4 separate regions of the Homo sapiens genome follow, and all the other regions are linked to region 2. Evidence: promoter capture Hi-C in 16 types of primary human blood cells and fetal thymus (Javierre and others, 2016). All regions are on one chromosome and are shown on one strand. The core of a region is centred on a gene start or on the middle of the fragment in contact, and the rest is flanking DNA. Distances in the headings are between cores, read along the strand shown. Region 1 overlaps DRP2 (dystrophin related protein 2). Region 2 holds the start of NOX1 (NADPH oxidase 1). Region 3 has its middle 21 kb from the start of DRP2. Region 4 overlaps TAF7L (TATA-box binding protein associated factor 7 like).

Region 1 (6,066 bases), core at 1-2,500, 380 kb after region 2:
CCTCCAGTTCAACTTCCCAGAGGCAACCAGTGTTGAGTTTGGCATATATCCTCCCAGACCTTCTTCTAGGAGCAGGGTATGGTGGGCATGAGCAAGAGTGGATTACCCAGCAGGCTGTCTGCTCTAGCAGAGCAGCCACACCTGCCCAGTATATCTGGAAGCCATTAGGGTAAGTTCCTCTGCCCTGTCTCCTCCTCAGACCACATCCAGTGAGAACATGAGGGACTTTGCCACAACCTTAAAGAACAAATTCCGCTCCAAGCATTATTTCAGCAAACACCCTCAGCGAGGTTATCTGCCTGTGCAATCAGTGCTGGAGGCTGACTACAGTGAGACGTGAGTACTGGTGGCTGAGCAGGGGCTGTGGGCAGCCTCACTGAGCCCGATCGTATGCTGTGAAGGGGCTGAGTCCCGAGTGGGCTAGGAGAATGTTCCAAGGTAAATCCCACTAGTGATAGGGCCGTTCAGCTTGGGCCTGACCTGCACTCTGGCCTGAGAAGTAGACTGGAATCCAGTCTTTGTATTTTGTTCCCATCAGCTCTTGCCCATGTCCATAATGTAGGGAGCAGGAGAGGGAGGAGGAAACAGGCTGCCCAGTCTTTGGTCCTCCGAGTCTTTGCTGCTTTCTTCTAGGCCGGCTTCTTCCCCGATGTGGCCACACGCCGACACACACTCCCGAATTGAGCATTTTGCCAGCAGGTACCACCAGGTTTGCGGGAGGTGGGTAGGAGCTGTTGTAGGAAGTCCGAGGGGAAAGGATCTTCAGTCGGGGCAAGGAGAATGGAGTCAGGGCCAGGGGATGTGCACAGTGGGGTGTGCAGCAGCCAGCAAGACCCAACACTTAGGAGTAGTTGGGGCAGCTCTCAAAGCCAATGATCCTGCTGTGAGATTAAAGTCCTTGAGATGGAAGCAGGCCCCACATCCTGTTTTCTCTCCTGCCTCTGCTCTTTATTCCTAGGCTTGCTGAGATGGAAAGTCAAAATTGCTCCTTCTTTAATGACAGCTTGTCCCCAGATGACAGCATGTGAGTTTCCACAGCTGCTTATTTGCCAGAAATAGTTCTCCTTGAGATCTTTGTGCCACTGTTTGGGAAGGGTATATCCTCCAGGGAATGGGGGTGTGTGGTGGTTAGGATCCTTAGCTCCCTAAGGAAGGAAGGCTGCTTTCTGGGCACGGTGTTCAGTAAGAAAGGCAGTCTTCCCTCTATCAATCAACCTAGGAAATGAGTGATGTACTAGCTCTCTGCCATCTTTCCAAGTCCCTTCCTGTTGCAAGATCCCATCCTTCTATACACAACTTTGAGGAACGAAGAATATGCCCTCCCTCATCTGAAGTTGCAGAAAGGAGCCATTATCTTGTGCTCAAGATGCCAAAGCCCTATCTAGTGCTACACTAACCCTGGGAGACATCAGGGACTTGGCTGAACTATAGCCAAGGGAACTCCCTGGTATGACAGCCCAGAGAAGGGGCCTTGTGTCTCTAGGGAGGTCCCCACCCTGCTCAGAGGTCCTAGGAGCTTCTGGCTACATGGATCAATCTGCCCTGACTGGGACCCAGATCCCTCTAGAGGAAGAGGAAACAAAGGAGGGTAGAGTAGGGGAACAGCACAGAAAGGGAAATGATTTGCTCATTGTTTCCCGGGGAGGGGGGTGGGCTGTAAGTAGAACCCAGATACCTGCATCCTGAAAACACTCTCTCAATACCCCCAACCACAGCCTCTGCCTCCTTTGAACACTTTCATCCCTCTCAAGCCTCAGTATATGTCCTTTCCCTCTCGATGTGACTTAGAAGTGAATCCTCCAGCATGCATTTCCTGGGGCCTGAGCTGAGAGCTGAGTTGTTTCTCTGTTCAACAACTGGTCACCTACTCTGCTTTCCCCACACCCATGCAGAGACGAGGACCAGTACCTGCTGCGGCACTCCAGCCCCATCACAGACCGGGAGCCAGCCTTTGGACAGCAGGCTCCATGCAGTGTGGCCACAGAAAGCAAAGGGGAGCTACAGAAGATCCTGGCCCACTTGGAAGATGAGAACCGGTGGGTGTGATGATAGCAGAAATCTGTGTGGGTTCTTGAGGCAGACAGATTGAATTTAAGTCCAGGCACTTCTACATCCTAGCTGTCTGACCTTGAGCAAGTTACTTATATTCTGTAATCCTCTATTTCCTTATCTGTAAAACGGGGATGATGATCATCAAACCTGCCTCCTAGGGTCACTTGTGAAGACCAAATGAGATCAGGCATATAATGTGTTTGGCTCAGTGCCTGGCTTATAGTAAGGGTTCAATAAATGCTAGCTATTATAATAATTATTTGAAAACTTTTAAATTTTTTTTTTTTTTGAGACAGAGTCTCACTCTGTTGCCCAGGCTGGAGTGCAGTGTCGTGATCTCGGCTCACTGCAACCTCTGGCTCCTGAGTTCAAACGATTCTCATGCCTTAGCGTCCCGAGTAGCTGGGACTACAGGCATGCACCACCATGCCTGGCTAATTTTTTTTTTTTTTGGTATTTTTAGTAGAGACGGGGTTTCACCATGTTGGCCAGGCTGGTCTTGAACTCCTGACCTCAAGTGATCTGCTCACCCCGGCTTCCCAAAGTGCTGGGATTACAGGCATGAGCCACTGTGCCTGGCCTGAATCCTTTTAATGTAACCCAAATTTTTCCAAGAACACACAAGATGCAAGCAGAGAGAATGCATAGAGAAAACAGGAGAGGGTATGACATGTTCCTGCCCTCAGAGACCTTTCAATGTTGGAAGTGGAAAGAAATGTGTATCACCTAGTAAAAGTATTCCAGAGGACAATGACACTACATAGAGCGTTGGAGGTCTGGAATAGGGATGGTGAAGAAGAATACAGGGAAGACATGACTTTCCATAAAGTAAAGGTGGCAGCAGGTACCTAAGGAGGGTCCAAGCCTCTTATGGGGCATGAAGTAGAATTCGTAGTACCCCTTAGAGCAGTGCTTTGCAAACAGTAGTGCATAAGATAGTCACTTGGGAAGCTTGGTAAAATACAAATTCTAAGTCACAGGTCTGGGTGGGGCCTGAGTTTCTGCGTTTCTCACTAGCTCCCAGTGGATGCCCATACTGCTGTTCCACAGGCCACACTTGGAGTAGCAAGTCTTTAGAACAGTGCTACTCAGAGTTTGGAGAGCAGACCAGGGCCAGTTTGTGACCAGTTTGTGACCAGTCCAAGGCAAGATAAAAAAAAAAAAAAAAAAAAAGAGAGAGTAAGCTTTTAGAAACTTTTACAGCAATTTGACATTGCTATGATATTCAAGCACCAAATTAGTAGGCTCATCTCGTTGAATAGGGTAGAGACCAGTTTGAGTGTTGTTGAACTTGTGTGATGAATTACGTGGTGTGAGCTATGTACTAGTCATGTGCATTGGGACCACATACTGGTCCACAACAGAGTGAAAAAAAAAAAAACCTGGATTTTTGCCATGAATCATTTGAGAAACACTGCCTTTGAGCAGCAGTCTGCAGGCCCTGGGAAACACTGGGCTGAGAGTGACTGTTCTGTTGCAAATAAAGAAAAAACGAACAAAGCCAAAAGTGATATCCCCAAAAGTAGGCCACCTGTTTGGAATTTGTTTTTTTGATGACCCAGCATGGGTGTTCAAAGTGGGCCAAAGAGGAGGATTGTGGAGAGAAGAGGCAAGACAGGTGGTCTCTTGTTTATGTTATGTTTTCCCTTGGAATCTAAACATCTAAAAATGGAGTAGGTGAGTCAGTGGCCCTAATGCCTCCTTTATTTGCAGACTGTGTTTCTGCCTGATTTTAAGGTCAGAATTAATCCCTAAAGCAGCACATCAAAGCCCTGAGACATTTCTTACGCAAAATGTCAACTTTCTCTGCTCTGAGGTCTCAGGATGGCAGAGTAAATGACATATGTGCTGGAGAGGAAGTGGATGTGGCCATTCAAGCAAGAGCACAGCTGGGGGTGGGGATGGGGGTGGGGGTGAGGTAGGGTGGAAGAGCACAGGGATTGTTCACACCTAGGCCTGAGGGGACATCTGAAACCTGGACAGTCAGAGCCCTGTTAGAGCCATAGGTCTTGGTGTCTCTCTCCATGGCAGGATTCTCCAGGGAGAGCTGAGGCGCCTGAAGTGGCAGCATGAGGAGGCAGCTGAGGCACCCAGTCTGGCTGACGGCTCCACTGAGGCAGCAACAGACCACCGCAATGAGGAGCTTCTGGCCGAGGCCCGTATCCTTCGGCAACATAAGAGCCGCCTGGAGACGCGCATGCAGATCCTCGAAGATCACAACAAGCAGCTAGAGTCCCAGCTGCAGCGTCTGAGGGAGCTTCTCCTGCAGGTGAGGATGGAGACAGGAAAAGAGCCAGGGTGGCCTCTGAGCCCAGGGGAAGGGCTGGGGAGCTGAGGGCTGTGGCAAAGAAGACACAAGAGAGAGCTCCTTGGCAGTGGCTGTCAGGTAACTTCCTGAAGAGAACTGGGCCTGCGGTTGGTGGGGGGGCGGGGGAAAGAAGAGACTGGTATGGTCACATCTTCAGCCAACTCTCTTCCACCTACCTTCCATGCCACCCTGTGTGTCACTCTCCAGCCACTGTGGGGCCTGGGGCAGAGAGAAGACTTCTGAGGGCTTATTTCTTCACAACCCATTGGAATCCCATACTAAAAGAACAAACTTCAAAAATCATCTAAAACATTGATTTTGCTAGTATGGTATTTGCTAGAAAGAAGTGGGTTGGGACAAGTTTGGCAAGAGAAAGATTAGTGCTATCTAAAGGTGTTTCTTGTTACTTTTTGCACCTTTCATCTCTGAGAGGCAATGTGTATGCTGTGGTAAAGCTCTGGAGTCAGGCAGCTCTGGGTTTGCATGTGGCTCTGCCAATTGACTGTGGGGTGTTTGGACAGTTAGTTAACCTCTCTAAGCCCCAGTTTCCTCATCTGTACAACAGAGATGGTAACAGTACCAACTTCATAGAATTGTGGTGAACATAAAAGGAGATAATGCATTTATGGAATTTAGCATGATGCCAGGAATTTAGTACACACTTCATAAATGTTACCTATTATTGTCATTATATGTAATGGAAAATACCACTCTTCTGCCTCTTCCCCAGATCCTCCAAGGAATGGCCTCTATGGATTCCTGGAGGTTTCTAACATATGCTATGTCATGAACCAAGGATCAGGTGTGAAACTCTACATTTCCAGAGAGAATTGTGTTCTAAATAGCTTAATTATAGCTGAAATGACAGCAAGAGACCTTTAGGTACAATGCCATTCTTTATTTAATTAATTAATTAATTAATTAATTTTCAAGACAGAGTTTGGCTCTTGTTGCCCAGGCTGGAGTGTAATGGCTCGATCTCAGCTCACTGCAACCTCCGCCTCCCAGGTTCAAGCGATTCTCCTGCCTCAGCCTCCCAAGTAGCTGGGATTATAGGCATGGGCCACCATGCCCGGCTAATTTTGTATTTTTAGTGGAGACGGGGTTTCTCCATGTTGGTTAGGCTGGTCTTGAACTCCTGACCTCAGGTGATCCGCCTGCGTCAGCCTCCCAAAGTGCTGGGATTACAGGCGTGAGCCACCGCGCCCAGCCTACAATGCCATTCTTATAAGAACTGGGAGCCTTTGACACATGTTGTTAAAGGAAGAAGGTAATGGGTAATTCAATATTCTAAGAAGTTTCCTAAAAGTGGAAGCCACTGTTTTAGGTAATACCAAAAGCTTCTTAAAGTCTAAGGGTAAAGGGATGGTATGAAGTCTCTCAGGTCCCTTCTAAGCTCAGGAGTCTGTCAGAGTAAGGTCAGGAAGGCAAATCCACTTAAGTCATGCCTTACCTCTTGCTAGCCACCCACCGAATCAGATGGCAGTGGCTCTGCAGGCTCGTCCCTAGCTTCCTCTCCACAGCAGTCAGAAGGCAGTCACCCCCGGGAGAAGGGACAGACTACTCCAGATACCGAGGCTGCAGGTGAGTTCCCCTGGCCTTTCCCAGCCCCTTTCTCCATGGCTTTGTCCTGCCCTCGATTTCCTGCCCAAGGCTTTGCGGGGCTGGGACTGGTTTCTCCTCTTGGCTTTGTGCTTAGGGTCAGG
Region 2 (5,509 bases), core at 1,050-3,549:
ATGCAATGCTTGGGGCTTAGTAAGAGATCAATAAGTGCTAGCTACAGAGTTGTGTCACCACCGAACCTGCTTTACCAATCAATTTCTTCCTGCCTCCTTTGCTCAGTTACCCTTTTCCAGAGCTGAGTGTCTTCCAGAGAAACGTCTTTGAAAGAAAAGAAAGTCAACAGTCACAGACACCTCAAGAATTTGGAAGACAGAGGAGAGAAGTTTATTTAGAGGGAGCAGAAATATTTCTGGATCGCAAAGAGACACAGGGGCAAATAACTGTGTCAGCCCATCATCAATTGTAGGCAAGGCAAATGATGAAATACAGTGATATCTAGGAGTAAGGCATTCCATTCCCCATCTTAGCTGTCATTTCCTCCACTATGAACGTCAAAGAAGGTAAACTACAAGACCTGGGAGGAAGGAGGAATAAAACTATTTTTAAGTAATTTATTTTTTATTTAAAAATCAGTGCATAGGAGTATATGTCAGAGATAATGAGAAGTCTAAGCTTGCCAGCTGGTTTGGTGGGGGATGAAAATTCAAAGCTAGAGAGTTAAATGTGAGTCACCATCATAGCTGGTAAACTCTCCCAGCAAAAAATAAGAGAGGGGGAAAAAATGCAGGTAAATGTGGATTTTAGAGCTAGAAACACCCTTATATTTGTATCTAATCTAGTCACTTTATTAATCCCCTGCTCCCCTCCCCTGCCCAATTCCCCCCACCTACACACCCACAGGACCTGAAGTCTAGAGAGGATAAATAATTTGATCGAGATCACCCAGTTAGTAGCAGAATTCAAAGTACTTGCCAGGTTCCCTTTCTCCTAAACTAGTGTTCTTTCCATTATAGTGCAAAAGGAACTCAATATAAGGCATTGAGCATTTAAAATATGTCATGGGATAACCTGACAAAATAAGCACTTTTGTTAAATGTAAAACAAACAACCCTCCAGGGAAACTCCACATATTTTTCCCTGGAGCACCTGGTCGGGGGGCGGGGGGGTAGACAGGAATAAAAAGAAGCATCACACCTTCTCTCTTCTGTTTTGCCTGTGGGACCCAAAAGCAAAACAGGAGAAAAGAGAAAGAGTAATGAATGAAGATCTAGGAAAGTGAGAAAGGACACAGGGAGCCCCAGGCTCAACTGTGGCTCAGAAATGGAAGAATGAGAGTGGAGAGAGGTGTTAGAGTGTTAGGAGAAAGGGATTGTGCATACAAAGGGTGATAAAGGGGTTCTGGCCTGAACGTCATTGGGGAGCTGGGTTCGAGTGATGCCAATTCAGTCAATTCATTGTGTGACATCTAGGTCTTATTTTCCTTTGTACAATCAATAAGTTGGTTTACATCTGCACTATGCAATGCCACAGCCACTACCCACATGGGGCTGCTGAGCACTTGAAATGTGGCTAGTCCTCACTGAGATGTGCTGTGGGTATATATACACATCAGATTTGAAAGACTCAGTAAAAATAAAAATATGTAAATTAGCTTCTTAATATTTTCAATATTGAATACATACTGAAAGGATTTGTTGATATGTTGGGTTAAATGAATTATATTGTTAAATATTAACTTCACCTGTTTATTTTTACCTTTTCGGTGTAGGTATTAGAAAATTTAGGAATTACATTATGTGGTTTGCTATATTTCTAGTGGTCAGTACTGGGCCAGATGATCTCTAAGATCACTTTCATCTCAAACATTCAGTGACTTTTTGAAATCTTGATGGGACCAGTATAGGAAAGATAGAGAGAAATCAGCACTCATGGTAGTAGTTAGAAGTGAGATGGAAGAGAAAGGGAGATGACAGAAAATGAAAACAGATTGAAATTCCAAATACTTGTGATTTGACAACATGAACAATTGCATGTTATTTGCCTCTGTCCTCTCATCTGACCCACAGTTGTATTTTTTAACTAACTGGTCTTGATGAGCCCAATAATCGGCATGGAATCATCTTTCTCTTTCAAATTGCTTTACAAATATTAAAAAACATGATTTCTCCTTAATCCTTCCTAATTAATAGGAAGTCAAACATCACTTACCAGAAACAAAACTGAAAACCAGTGGTTAACCACCCAGTTTCCCATTGTCAAGAGGTGGTTTGGAGCCCTTCTAGGCAACAGGGAAGATTCAGCAATCCGGATTCTGGAGAGGTCCTTCAGGAATGGAACATTTGTCCAGCGCAGGGTCTGTGAGCCTTTAAGATGTGAAAAACACACACCTACCCCAAGAGTTCCTGGGAATGAATAAGTTTATTCTGCCTTCCTTCTCTGGACAGAACTGTGCTATCAGCTTAGATAGACCAGCCCTATCTATGAGAACCACAAGGGTTTTACCTGTGGGGATTTTACTGCTTCAGGAAATAGCAACATTCTTGGATGAAAATATTCTCTCTCATCATCTTATCAACATGACCTAATGTGAAGCATTGCCTTCCTAGATAAAAGATTTGCTAAAGTTTCTCATAAAAAAGATTATTAGTCTGGGTCTGTAAACAGATTACTTCAGGAGAAGTAGGGAGGGAAGCGTGTGTGGTAAGGAAGCTGTTTCAAAGTGCACTTTTCAAACTGTTGCCACATCTGCCGGCTGCCATTTGGATTTCAGCCTGGCTAGCTCAGAAACTTTAGCATACCAGTTCCCCTGGAGGATGATCTGTGGTTGACATATATGATGATGGCTTTGGGGAGAACTTGACTGGCTGGAAGGACAAGTGAAAAGAAGGGCCAAATAGAGCAAGAGAAAATTTAACAAGTATAAAAGTGCACTTTGGTTCAAAATAAACAGAGGCAGAGCACTCAAAAGAATGGAGATGATTGTCTTCTAGTATGATAGATTTACTAGAGTTGTGTGTTCAGCTCTGGGCACTGATTTTTTTTCCCTTTTCTAAAATGGTGAAATATACACAGAAGAGTATATAAAACATACATATGTAACTTAAAGAATAATTTTAAGGAATAAGTATCTATGTGTTCACTACTCAGATTAAAGAAAATAGACTATTTTTCTCCAGTATCTTAAAGCTCTTTGTATTTCCCTCCCTGATCACATCTATCTTCTTCCCCTCCTCTACCCCACCGGATGTAATCACTATCCTGAAATTTGGGGTAATCATTCTGTTATTTTTCTTTATATTTTTACTAACTATAATTGCATCCCTAAGCAATATATTGTTTAGTTTTTCCTGTTTTTGAACTTTTTGTAAATGAAACCTGGCAGTGTGTATGTATGCTTCTGTGGTTTGCTTCTTTCAACATTGGGTTTTTGAGATTCATACATGTACATGTAATTGCGGTTCACTTACACTGCTATCTAATATGCCATTGCATGAATGAATATACATTAATGTATTCATTCATCCTACTACTGATGGATATGATGATGGAACAATGTTGATCAAATGTCACACATATGCTACAGTTTCTCTAAGGTATATACCCAGGAGTAAAATTCCAGGGTCCTGAGATTTGCACATATTCTACTTTGCTGTGTAATTCCAAACCCGTTCCGAAGTGACCACCTAAATGTATACTACAGAGAGTTATGAATGAGAGTTCTACTTCCTCTACATGCTTACCAACCCTTGGTATTTTCCAGACTTTTTTGTTTTTATAATTCAAGTAAGTGTGGAAAACTATCGTATTATGATTTTAATTTGCATTTCCCTGATTACTAATGAGTTTGAGCATCTTTTAATTCAACTGCTGGCCATTTGAGTTTTCTCTTTTTAAAAGAGCCTATTCTGAGCCTATTCTACTTTTTGGTCTATCTTTCTATTGGTTTTTCTTTTGCTTTTAGATTCTTAGGGTTCTGTTTATAATCTTATACTAATCTTTTATTGCTTATGTTTATGGCTTGTCTTTTCAGTCTCTTAATAGTGTTTTCTGATAAATGGAAGTTCTTAATTTTAATGCACTCTGATTACCAGTCATTTCTTTTATGATTTATGCATTTTATGTCTTGTTTTAGAAATCCATCACTACCCAGATATCAAGATACTCTTTTATATTTTCTTCTAGAAATTTTATATTTTTGCATTTTACATTTATGTTTTGAATCCACCTGGAGCTGATTTTCATGTATGGTATCCAATTTACTACTTTTAAATATGGAAAACGAATTGCCCCAGCATCATTTTTGAAAAGTACTTTTTATTTTTATTTTTATTTTTTTGAGACAGGGTCTCACTCTGTCACCCAGGTTGGAGTACAGTGGTGTGATCTCCCTTCACTGCAACCTTCACCTCCTGGGTTCAAGTGATTCTCATGCCTTAGCCACCCGAGTAGCTGGGATTACAGGCAAGCGCCATCATGCCTGGCTAATTTTTGTATTTTTAGTAGAGACAGGGTTTTGCTGTGCTGGCCAGTCTGGTCTTGACCTCCTGGCCTCATGTGATCCACCCACGTGGGCCTCTCAAAGTGCTGGGATTACAGGCATGAGCCACTGCGCTCAGCCATTTTTGAAAAGTACTTTCAAAAATATACTTTCTTCGCTGATCTAAAATGTCAGTTCTATTATATATGAAATGTCTATATACACGAGTTTCTTCCGGAGCTCTCCATTCAGTTCTTCCATGCCACTGCCTTAATTACTAAGTCTTGACATCTGATAAGACAAGTTTCCCCACCTTGTTCTTCAAGAGTGCTTTGGCTATTCTTGACTTTTTGTTTGTTTGTTTCTTTGTTTTGGGGGGAGGGGGGGTTCTGTGTTTTGTTTTTATTCTTGGCCTTTTTCATTTTCATGTAAATTTTATAATCAAATTCTTGCGTCTCCTTTGTTATATTCACTTCTTCTTCTTTTTTTTTTTTCTTTGAGACGGAGTCTCGCTCTGTCGCCCAGGCTGGAGTGCAGTGGTGCAATCTCGGCTCACTGCAAGCTCCACCTCCCGGGTTCACGCCATTCTCCTGCCTCAGCCTCCCGAGTAGCTGGGACCACAGGCGCCCGCCACCACGCCTGGCTAATTTTTTCTATTTTTTAGTAGAGACGGGGTTTCACTGTGCTAGCCAGGATGGTCTCGACCTCCTCACCTCGTGATCCGCCTGCCTCGGCCTCCCAAAGTGCTGGGATTACAGGCATGAGCCACCGTGCCCAGCCTGTTATATCCACTTCTAAGAACTTTATATGTTTTCATGAGGTTGTAAATTATATATTTTAATTTTAATTTTTAATGATGGCTGTTAAAGATACAATTTGTTTTTACATATTGATTTTTATGCCCAGCAACATTGCTAAACTCACTTATTAATTGTAATAATATTTCTGTATTTTGTCTTACATTGTCTATAAACACAGTCACATTTTTCGCTCTAAACACAGTTTTATTTCTTTTTTCTAATTCTTTTTTTTTTTTTTGAGACGGAGTTTCCCTCTTGTTGCCCAGGCTGGAGTGCAATGGCTTACTGCAACGTCTGCCTCCCGGGTTCAAGCGATTCTCCTGCCTCAGCCTCCCGAGTAGCTGGGACTACAGGCGCCCACCACCATGCTCGGCTAATTTTTCTATTTTTAGTAGAGACTGGGTT
Region 3 (5,887 bases), core at 345-2,844, 320 kb after region 2:
TACAGAGATTCAGGTGTTTTTCTTTAAAATACATTCCCCAGGTTGCTGCAAGCCTTTGGTTAATTTCCAGAGTTCTGAAAATGTTGATTCTGACTAGTTTTGGCTTCAAAAAAATTTTACGGAGGACTGAATTTGGGGGGCCGTTACTCTTCCATTTTCGCTAATATTGTCTCAATAATTCTTTTAAAAAGCTTGTTAATATAATTATATCTAAAAACATTAACAATACTGCCTTAATATATGTCTATTTTATGTTTCCCTGATTGTCTCAAAGTATTTTTATAACCATTTGTTTGATTCAGGTATTTTAAATGGTCCCCAGGTTACATTTGGTTGATATGTCTTTAATGCCTCATTTAATCTATAGGTTCTCCTTGTTCCTTTTTATTTTTGCAATTTTTTTGTTGAAGAAACTGGGTGTCTTCCTAAGTTTCCCACATTCTAGAGTTTGCTCATTCTATTCTCATGATATTGTTTAACATGCTCCTTTGTCCCTTTTTTCCCTACAGGTTTAATTAGAGTAGATCTTATCTTTTGATAAGAATATTTCATATATACTATTGTCTGTCATTCTCCTTATATTTTAAAGCTACATTTGGGTGCCCATATCAGGGCCCTACAACAAGTGGATTAGAATATAGAGGCTTAGGCTAGGCACAGTGGCTCACGCCTGTAATTCCAGCATGTTGGGAGGCCAAGGTGGGCGGATCACCTGAGGTCAGGAGTTCCAGACCAGCCTGGCCAACATGGTGAAACCCCGTCTCTACTAAAAATACAAAAATTAGCCAGGCGTGGTGGTGTGTGCCTGTAATCCCAGCTACTCGGGAGGCTGAGGCAGGAGAATCGCTTGAACCTGGGAGGTAGAGGTTGCAGTGAGCCGAGATCGCGCCACTGTACTCCAGCCTGGGTGACAGAGCGAGACTCCGTCTCAAAAAATAAATAAATAAATAATAAAGAAATTAAAAATAGAATATAGAGGCTTACCTATAATCTCTTCCTTCTGTGCACTCCCTTCTTCCCAAACAGATATACACTTATTCTCTCAGTAATGAAATACTTATTTCTAGGAATTGAAAAGTAACCTTTTTTTCCATTAAAATACTGGTTCTGTCAGTCTTAGATTACCACGACCATTATTAAAATCTTTATACTGCATTTTTTACTATTTAGTATTTTTAGATTTTTAAACCCCAAACCTAAACCTTTGTCAGCCTAATTGTACTGGAATTTTAAAAATAGTATCAAGCTGGGTGCACTGGCTCTTGCCTGTAATCCCAACACTTTGTGGGGCTGAGGTGAGAGGATCACTTGAGCCCAGGAGTTCAAAACTAGCCTAGGCAACGTAGCGAAACCCCATCTGTACAAAAAATTAAAAAATTACCAGGGTATGGTGGCACACACCTATAGTCCCAGCTACTCAGAAGGCTGACGAGGGAGGATTGCTTGAGCCTGGGAAGTTGAGGCTACAGTGAGCCATGACCATGCCACTGCACTCCAGCCTGGGTGACAGAGTGAGACCCTGTCTAAAAAAAAATATTGTCATGCATTATATCCAGTTCACATTCTAAGATATTGTGTGGATGCCTTTCATCCAGATTCTTCAGTGTGGCAGGCATTATTATAATAGTCTCATTTTACAGTTGAAGAAACTATAAGCTCTGAAAGATTGAATAATTCACACAAAGTCATTCATAATGGAGTCAGGTCTGCCTTTCAGATCTACTAACACCAGAGTCTATGGGTTTTTTTCATTACACCATTTTGAGAATAAAATCATATGGTATTGCAAGCTGCTCCTTGTACTCTTTCTTTTTTTTTTTTTTTTTTGAGATGGAGTCTCGCTCTGTCACCCAGGCTGGAGTGCAGTGGCACGATCTCGGCTCACTGCAACCTCCACCTCCCGGGTTCAAGTGACTCTCCTGCCTCAGCCTCCTGAGTAGCTGGGATTACAGGTGCCCGCCACCACGCCTGGCTAATTTTTGTATTTTTAGTAGAGATGGGGTTTCACCATGTTGGCCAGGCTGGTCTCGAACTCCTGACCTCCTGATCCGCCCGCCTTGGCCTCCCAAAGTGCTGGGATTACAGGCGTGAGCCACCGCATCCGGTCTCTTTTTTTTTTTTTTTGAGATGGAGTCTCACTCTGTCTCCCAGGCTGGAGTGCAGTGGTACAATCTCGGGTCACTGCAACCTCCACCTCCCGGGTTCAAGTGATTCTCCTGCCTCTGCCTCCCAAGTAGCTGGGATTACAGGCACGTGCCATCACACCCAGCTAATTTTTGTATTTTTATTAGAGACGGGGCTTCCCTATGTTAGCCAGGCTGGTCTCGAACTCCCAACCTCAGGTGATCTGCCCCCCTTGGCCTCCCAAAGTGCTGGGATTATAGACGTGAGCCACCACACCTGGTGCCTGGTACTCTCTTAAGAAAAATATCTCCTTTTTAAGATTATTAGTATCATAAGATCTAATACCTTGAAGCAGATAATATAGATACTGCAAGTATGGGCTATAATATAATAAATCACACTAGGGTGAGGAAAATTGAAAGGTTGTTCTCCACTTAATGCTTTAACATTACCAAATTAATGTTGTCTTCAATTACCACTTTCCCACACTAAAAATTAAAACTAATCACTATGTATAATTTAAACGTTTTGAATTATTGCCCTGAGCTTAATCTTAGTTTAAAACAATTGAAACACACCAGAACTTTCTTCAAAGAAAAATGTATTTGAAAACTCCTGGTAAAAATACTGATTCCTCTTTTAATGATAAAAGATAAAACACACTCTTATTGGAGCAGAGAATAATGACCACTTTTGTTTTATAAAACATGTGTTTCCCTCACCCCTAATTGAGTACACATGCTCCAGGAAAAAAATCAGGGCCAAATACTGCTAATAATGAAAGGGAAGAATATTAGGATCATAATTTAATTAGCTCTAAGGATCTCTTTGCTCATCGCGAAATAAAAGGATCAATGATCCCTTTGAGCACTTGAAAGCTTTTCCTGTCAATTAGCCATTGTGACTAGATTGGCTATTTAAAGGCATGCTTTTCAAACTGGGTATGAGTACTCCCAGGGAAATTAAAAACTGTATAAATATACACACAATCACAGAGTGAGGAATGGCATTTTTTACTCAGATTATTTGCCAAAAACAAAGTATCCTGAATTGGGTCAGAGCAAATCTTCTGAAGAATATATGATGTCTGTATGGCATAAACTAATATCTGGGAGTAGGAAGAAAATTCTCTCTTCTGCTTTATTATACTTGGATACCACATCCAAAGCAAAAAATCTAAGCAAAAGAAAAGCAAAATAATCTGTTTAGAGGAAGATTTAATCAATTTGAGAGAGAAGCAATTATTTTACTTATCTAATTTGAATGCTGGGATAACATACTTTTTTCTTGAAGTGTTCAGTGGGACCATTAACCATTTTTTTTTCTTTTTTAAATTGATATTGTCTTTTTAAATATTTTTCTTCTTTTCTTTCTTCCTTTCTTTTTTTTTTTTTTTTTTTTTGAGATAAAGTCTTGTTATATTGTCCAGGCTGCTCTTGCACTCTTGGGCTTAAGCAATCTTTCTGCCTCAGCCTCCCAAGTAACTGGGACTACAGGCATGTGCCACTGTGCTTAGCTAATAATTGTTTTTTTCTTTTCTACAGTAAAAGTTCACAGATCTCAAGCGTAGCTCACTTAATTCTCTCTCTCTGTGTCTCCCTCACACACACATCTCTTTCTCTCTCACACACATACACACACACAATCATTTAACTACCTACCACCCAGATCAAGATGTAGAACCATTTCCAGTACCTCAGAAGACTTCTTCATGCCCCTTCCCACTTGATACTCTCGAAGGTAACCACCGTTTTAACTTGTATCACCATAGGTGTATTGCCTGTTTTAAAACTTCATTTAAATGGAATCAAACTATGTACTTATGTATTTGACTTTTGCTAAACATTATTTTCTTTTTCTTTCTTTCTTTTTTTTTTTTTTTTTTTTTTTTTGAGAGAGTCTTACTCTGTTGCCCAGGCTGGAGTGCAGTGGTGCGATCTTGGCTCACTGCAACCTCTGCCTCCCAGGTTCAAGCGATTCTCCCGCCTCAGCCTCTCGAGTAGCTGGGATTACAGGCACGTGCCACCACGCCTGGCTAATTTTTTGTATTTTTAGTAGAGATGGGGTTTTGCCATGTTGGGCAGGCTGGTCTCGAACTCCTGACCTTAGGTGATCTGCCTGCCTTGGCCTCCCAAAGTGCTGGAATTACAGGCATGAGTCACCACACCCAGCCAACATTGTTTTCTTGAGATTTATCCATGTCATTGCACATTCTAGTAGTTTCTTCTTCTTTTTAGCTGCTATGTACTAATTCCATTGTGTCAATTTACCACAATTGGTTTATTCATTCTAGAGTATAAATGCATTTGAGTTTCCAGTTTTTGAATTATGAACAAAATGGATACGAACAGTCTTGTACATATCTTTCATAGAATATAAGCACTCATTTTGGTTGAGTTCATATGCAGGAGCGGAATTTCTTCGTCATAGAATGAAATGTATGTTTGGCTTTTGTAATAACTGCCAAAGTGATTATGTGTTTATTTACATCACCACCAGCAATGTATGACAGTCTCAATAGCTCTATATCTTCATTGGCACTTGATTTTGTCCATCTAATTTAACCATTATGTTGGATGTATGGTAGTATCACAATGTCATTTTAGTTTGCATTTTCCTGATGATTAATGATGGTGAGCATCTCTTCATAGGTTTATTGACCATATGGATATCTTCTTTCGTAAAATGCCTGTTCAGGTATTTTACCTATTTTATTACTGAGTTTTTGTCTTTCTATTGTTTTGTAAGATTTCTATATTTTTATTTTTTATTTTTTTAGAGACGAAGTATCACTCTATTGCCCAAGTTGGAGTGTAATGGTGCAAACCTAGTTCACTGCAGCCTGAAACTCCTGAGCTCAAGTGATCTTCCTGCCTCAGCCTCTTGAATAGCTGGGGCTACAGGCGTGTGCCACCACACTTGGCTTTTTTATTTTTTTTTTTACTATTTTTTTGTAGAGATGGGGTCTTGCTATGTTTCCCAGGTTGGTCTTGAACTCCCGGCCTCAAGCGATCCTTCCGTCTCAGCTTCCCAAAGTGCTGGGGCTACAGGTATGAGCCACCACACCTGGCCCAGTTCTTTACATATTCTAACTGCAAGTCCTTAGTCGTATGTATTTCAGAAATCTCCCAGTCTATGGCTTGAATTTTCGTATTCTTAATGATATCATTTGACCAGAAGTTCTTAATTTTAATTAAGTCCAATTTATCATTTCTTATTAGTTAGTACTTTTGATGCCCTACTTTAAAAATCCTTGCCTATCCCTAAGATCAAGAAGATACTCTTCTATGTGTTTTGCTAGAACAGGAGTTGACAAACTACATCCCAAAGGTCAAATGTGGCCCAGATAATGTTTTACTGAATCATAGCTACATCCATTCATTTATGTATCGTCTATGGTTGCTTTCACACTTCAGCATCAAAGTCAGTGTGACAAAGACCATACGAGCCACAAAGCCTAAAATATTTACTATCTGGCCTTTTACAGAAAATGTTTGCCAACCTCTGTTGTTCTAGATCATTTAGATCTATTACCCATCTCAAATTAATTTTTGTGTGTGGTTTGAGATAGTTCATTTTTTTCTATATAGATATCCAGTTAACCCATCACTATTAAAAAAAAAAAAACTCTAACCCTTTCCCACTGAATTGTAATGGTGCCTTCACCATACATCTGATGACTGGATATGGGTGGTTCTCTTTCTATATTCTATATAGTGCTCCATTGGTCTATTTGACTATCATTGCATAAATACCATATGGT
Region 4 (5,383 bases), core at 1,179-3,678, 400 kb after region 2:
GTGCCTGTACTTCAAGAGCACCATGCTAAGCCCATCCTCATAATACCAACTCCAGTCTCTTTAAAATTGTAACCCTCAACAGTATAAGGTTAGAGTCAGCACACATTTTCTATACAGCTGCTTGACCCTCATTTAGCCTATATTGCCTTCTTCTCTCTTCGCCCTGTACACTCTCTTGTGGCTTTGAAAAATACAGTTGTCGTTCAAGTTAGAAATACATACATCCTTAATGATTCCTTCTCCTTCAACACCCAGTAATTGACCCAACTCCTGTCAATTCTACCTTTAAAGTATATTCTCTAATATATCAATATTCATTGCAGCATTATTCATAATAGCCAAAAGTGAAAGCAACCCAAATGTCCATCAGCAGATGAATGAATAAACAAAATGTGGTATATTGATCCAATGGAGTATTAGTCAGTTTTAAATGGAAAAAAGTACTGATACATGCCATAACATGGATGAACCCTGAAAATATGCTAAATGAGAGGAGCCCGACTCAAAACACCATGTATTATATGATTTCACTTGTATGAAATAACTAGAATAGGCAGTAGATTAGTAGAAACTAGATGAGTGGTTGCCTAGTGCTGGGCAGGGGAGAGGTTCTGGAGAAGTGGGGAGTGACTACTAATGGATACAGGGTTTCTTTTTGGAGTGATGAAACTATTCTAAAATTGACTGCAGTGGTGGTTGTACAACTCTGAATATGCTAAAAGCCACTGAATTGTATAGTTTAAATGGGTGACTTGTCGGGGGTGGGGAGGACGGGGTTTGAGGCAGTCTCACTCTGTCACCCAGGCTGGAGTGCAGTGGTGGGATCTCTGCTCACTGCAACCTCTGCCTCCCAGGCTCAAGCAATCCTCCCACCTCAGCCTCCCGAGCAGCTGGGACTACAGGCATACACCACCATGCCTGGCTAATTTTTGGAGAGACGGGGTTTCACCATGTTGCCCAGGCTGGTCTCGAACTCCTGGGCTGAAGCCATCTGCCCACTTTGGCCTCCCAAAGCGCTAGGATTACAGGCACGCACCACCGCACCCAGCCTAAATGGGTGATATTGTATGGTTTATGAATTACATCTGTTATAAAAACATTTTTATTGCAGTTTAAAAATCTATATTCTTTCAATCTCCATTGCTACTAACTTAGTCCAAGTTACCATCCTCTGTTATTAGAGTACCACAAAGCCCCCCAACCAGCCTCTTTGCTTCTACTCTCACCTTCTTCCAACCCATTCTCCAGATAATAATCAGAGTAACCTTTTAAAAGTTTAAATTAGGCCAGACGTGGTGGCTCACGCCTGTAATCCCAGCACTTTGGGAGGCCAAGGCAGGTGGATCACGAGGTCAGGAGATCAAGACCATCCTCGCTAACACGGTGAAACCCTGTCTCTACTAAAAATACAAAAAATTAGCCGGGCATGGTGGCACGTGCCTGTAGTCCCAGTTACTTGGGAGGCTGAGGGAGGACAATCTCTTGAACCCGAGAGGCGGATGTTGCAGTGAGCCTAGATTGTGCCACTGCACTCCAGCCTGGGCGACAGAGCAAGACTCCATTTAAAAAAAAAAAAGTTTAAATTAGATGTGATTTTCCTATCTACAATTCTTCAAGGACTTCACATTACACTTAAGGCCAAACCCATCCTCCTTATCATGGCCTTCAAGGAACCATACACTATGGTCTCTGCCTACTTCTCCAACCTTATCTTAAGCCATTCTCTTCCTGGCTTTAAATACTCCAAAGGTCCTCAAAGAAGCCAAGTTCTTTCTGAGCATGAGACCTTGCATACGCTCCACCTAAGAGGCTCCTCATCCCACTCTTTGCCTGGACTTAATCCTTCCGGTCTCAGCTTCAATAGCACCTCCTAGGAGAGGTCTATCATGATCCCCCAATTAATTCAAGACCCTTTATTCTAATAGCACCACTGACTTTTTTCCTTCATAGCACTTCTTCACAATTTGTAACTTTATATTTGTATAATTTGTTTATTGTCAATCTCCCCTGCTAGACAGCTCCACGAGGATAAGTACAGCAGGTCCTTGAATAACATCGTTTTGTCCAATGTCGTTTTGTTACAGTAAGTCCTCACTTAATGTCATCAATAGGTTCTTAGAAACTGCAACTTTAAGCAAAATGACATGCAAAAGGTCTCCAAATAACATTGTTAGTTCAATGTCATTTCATTATAATTTTTTTTTTTTTTGAGACAGGGGCTCACTTTGTTGCCCAAGCTGGAGTGCAGTGGTGTGATCATGGCTCACTGCAGCCTCAACCTCCTGGGCTCAAGCAATCCTCCCACCTTAGCGTCCTGAGTAGCTGAGACTACAGGCTTATGCCACCACAACCGGCTAATTTTTTGTACAGTCAGCGTTTCACCATGTTGCTCAGATTGGTCTCAAACTCCTGAGCTAAAGCAATCCTCTCGCGTCGGCCTCCCAAAATACTGGGGTTACATGCATGAGCCACCACTCCTGGCCTCATTATAATGTTGATGAGAAAAATAAAATCACTTCCCTGTACACATTAGGTGAATTGGTTTGTCTGAATTGTCCCAGTCTGAGTGAGTGTGGGTGTGAGTGTGGGTGTGAGTGTGCCCTGCAATGGGATGCCATCCTATCCAAGGCTGGTTCCTACCTTGTGCCCTGAGCTGCTGGGATAGGCTCTGGCCATCTGAGACCCTGAACTGGAATCACTGGGTACATAATTGTCTTACTTGTTTTTATCAGTCTTTCTCAAATGTATGTATAGCTCACATTTATTTCAACGTTTAATTATTAGAAGCGTTTTGGTTTTTATTTAGAAGTTTGGTGATGTTTTTGTGACCAGAAATATGCTATAGGAACTTAATTCTTCTTTATATCAATTAGCCTATAGTAAAATTGGTTTCATTATATATACATTATTTTGCTTAAAGTTACAGTTTCCAAGAACCTATCAATGACACTGAGGATTTACTGTATTGCATTTGTCTTATTCAACACCGTACATCCAGTGCTTTTCACTTCATAGGCATTCAATATCTGTTGAATGAGTGAATTTTCACAAAGACCTTGTTCCACCCTGCTACCTTCATTTAGAAGATTTGGCTACCACTATTCCTATGAGAGGAACAGCCAGCAATGATATTGGAATTGAAGTGGGGGATTCTCTGTATCAAATGTTTTCTGGTTAATTTGAAAACATACTTCTTACCTTCTCATTTTTTTGTTTTTCCTGTAACTCAAGCTGCTCCAGCACAGACTGAAAATGATTCTGAAAAATAAATTGTATAAATGATGAACACTGAGTCTCAAAGAAAAAAAAAAAAACCAAGGGAGGCAAGGAGTTTGGCAAATAATTGTTTTTGTTTTTGTTTTTGAGGCGGAATCTTCCTCTGTCACCCAGGCTGGAGTGCAGTGGCGCAATCTTGGCTCATGCAACCTCCGCCTCCCAGGCTCAAGTGATTCTCATGTCTCAGCCTCCTGGGTAGCTGGGATTACAGGAGCATGCCACCAGGCCTGGCTAATTTTTGTATTTTTAGTAGAGATGAGGTTTCATCTCTACTAAAAGATCCCTTACTCAGGGATCATTTACTGTGATCCCTGGCAAGTTACTTAACCTCTTTGAGTTTCCATTCTTTATCTATAAAATGGGAGTGGTGACAGTATTTACGTTTCAAGGATGTGAGGATAAAATGTGATAATATGTGTACACAATTCTTAGCCCTTTATGTGCCTTTTACATAGCAAATGCTCAATATTGGCAATTTTTATCTCATATCACCTAGTCCCTTCCCCAAAATGCTTATATTAGATGATCAAAATTACTCAGGTAAAAGGAAACAGGGTTATCTTTTATTAGGAGTTTCTAAGAGGCTGTTTAGGTTCATGAATGAACAAGAACCCTGCACAGAGATAACATAAGTGGAAACACAAAGGCAAGATACTGAAAGTAAGATATCAGGATTTCTTTATGCCAGCCAAGAATTTACCTTGAGTGTCAGGTTTTCCACTTTCATGATGAGATCCTTCTGTCTTTGTGCTTTATTCTGAATCTTATGGAGCTTTTTCTCCTTTTTCTCAATCTGCTTCTGAATTTCCATGACTAATAGAGAAACATAGAACTTTATATATTAAATATAGCCTAAATGAATGGACCAAGATCCAAATCAAGTAAAACTCTACTACACATCGAAGCGATAACTTCTTGAGCTTAGCTTTGAGTCTAATGTATGCTTAGAGTCAACTGTTAGCACTGCCACCCACCCTGGTCCCATCCCTTTGTTTTTTCTGACTTACCTATTGAACTGGTACCTTCATTTGCCCTATACTGGCCAGATTCAATAAACTCGGCCTGCAGCTGCCTTTCCAGATACTCTTCAGAACAATCTTCCTCCTCCTCTTCTTTGTCTTCATCTTCATCCTCATCCTCATCCTCATCCTCATCTTCATCATCCTCATCCTCATCATCATCATTGTTACTTCTAGAATCACTGAACATCTCCCGAAGCATATCATATTCTACTAGTTTTAAGCAAGAAGAAGGTGAACTATCTAAAACTCTGCAAATGACTCATACTCCAGATATAATTATACTCCTTTCACATTCCCCAGGCAACCAGTGAATTTTATAAATCATTTTTTCATGCAGGAAGATTATTCCCTTTATAAAACAAGGACAGCAAATGCAAAACACTGTAACATTCATTCATGTAGTGAATGATCAAGATATTTAGAGACTCTAAGGGTCATAGGAAGTTAAAATACCAGGGGTGGATGGGAGATTAGAACACTAATCTAAAACCCCTAAACTGCCAAGAGACCAATAAGAGGGAAGAAGGGCTGGGTGTGGTGGCTCATGCCTGTAATCCCAGCACTTTGGGAGGCCAACGCGGGCAGAACACTTGAAGCCAGGAGTTGGAGACCAGCCTGGCCAACATGGCAAAACCCCATCTCTACTTACAAAAAAAAAAAAAAGAAAAGAAAAAAGAAAAATTAGCTTGGTGTGGTGGTACATGCCTGTAATCCCAGCTACTTGGGAGGCTGAGGCACAAGAACTACTTGAACCTGGGAGGCAGAGGTTGCAGTGAGCCGAGATCGCACCACTACACTCCAGTTTGGGCGACAGAGCGAGACTCTGTCTCAAAAAAAAAAAAAAAAAAAAAAAAAGGCCAGGCACAGTGGCTCATGCCTGTAATTCAAGCACTTTGGGAGGCCGAGGCAGGCAGATCACTTGAGGTCTGGAATTCAAGACCAGCCTGGCCAACATGGTGAAACCCCGACGCTAGTAAAAAATTAGCTGGGCATGGTGGTGAACACCTGTAATCCCAGCTACCTGGGAGGCCGAGGCAGGAGAATCACTTGAACTCATGAGGCAGAGGTTGTAGTGAGCCGAGATC

Evidence for each region. The method cuts DNA at HindIII sites, captures the fragments that hold promoters and counts their contacts. A CHiCAGO score of 5 or more calls a contact.
Region 1: a fragment that was not itself captured here is called in contact with the fragment with the promoter of NOX1 in region 2 in 1 of 17 cell types (total CD4 T cells); the score reaches 5.1 in total CD4 T cells.
Region 3: a fragment that was not itself captured here is called in contact with the fragment with the promoter of NOX1 in region 2 in 2 of 17 cell types (naive B cells and total B cells); the score reaches 6.7 in naive B cells.
Region 4: a fragment that was not itself captured here is called in contact with the fragment with the promoter of NOX1 in region 2 in 1 of 17 cell types (naive CD8 T cells); the score reaches 6.0 in naive CD8 T cells.

Annotation. Positions count from the first base shown.
Region 1 is chrX:101,254,226-101,260,291 of GRCh38, forward strand. It overlaps DRP2 (dystrophin related protein 2), which reads left to right. Exons shown (of 24, transcript NM_001939.3): 18 at 200-336; 19 at 634-699; 20 at 959-1,024; 21 at 1,893-2,036; 22 at 4,084-4,321; 23 at 5,824-5,944. Among named protein-coding and RNA genes, the nearest start is that of TAF7L, 34 kb to the right of the region's middle. The HindIII fragment of the contact is 3,502 bases long and covers 1-3,001 here.
Region 2 is chrX:100,872,060-100,877,568 of GRCh38, forward strand. NOX1 (NADPH oxidase 1) reads right to left here and starts at 2,300. Exons shown (of 13, transcript NM_007052.5): 1 at 2,036-2,300. The coding sequence starts at 2,080. The HindIII fragment of the contact is 11,783 bases long and covers 498-5,509 here.
Region 3 is chrX:101,196,159-101,202,045 of GRCh38, forward strand. No RefSeq gene overlaps it. Among named protein-coding and RNA genes, the nearest start is that of DRP2, 21 kb to the right of the region's middle. The HindIII fragment of the contact is 2,811 bases long and covers 190-3,000 here.
Region 4 is chrX:101,272,024-101,277,406 of GRCh38, forward strand. It overlaps TAF7L (TATA-box binding protein associated factor 7 like), which reads right to left. Exons shown (of 13, transcript NM_001168474.2): 10 at 4,284-4,505; 11 at 3,977-4,089; 12 at 3,199-3,258. Among named protein-coding and RNA genes, the nearest start is that of TAF7L, 17 kb to the right of the region's middle. The HindIII fragment of the contact is 9,276 bases long and covers 1-5,383 here.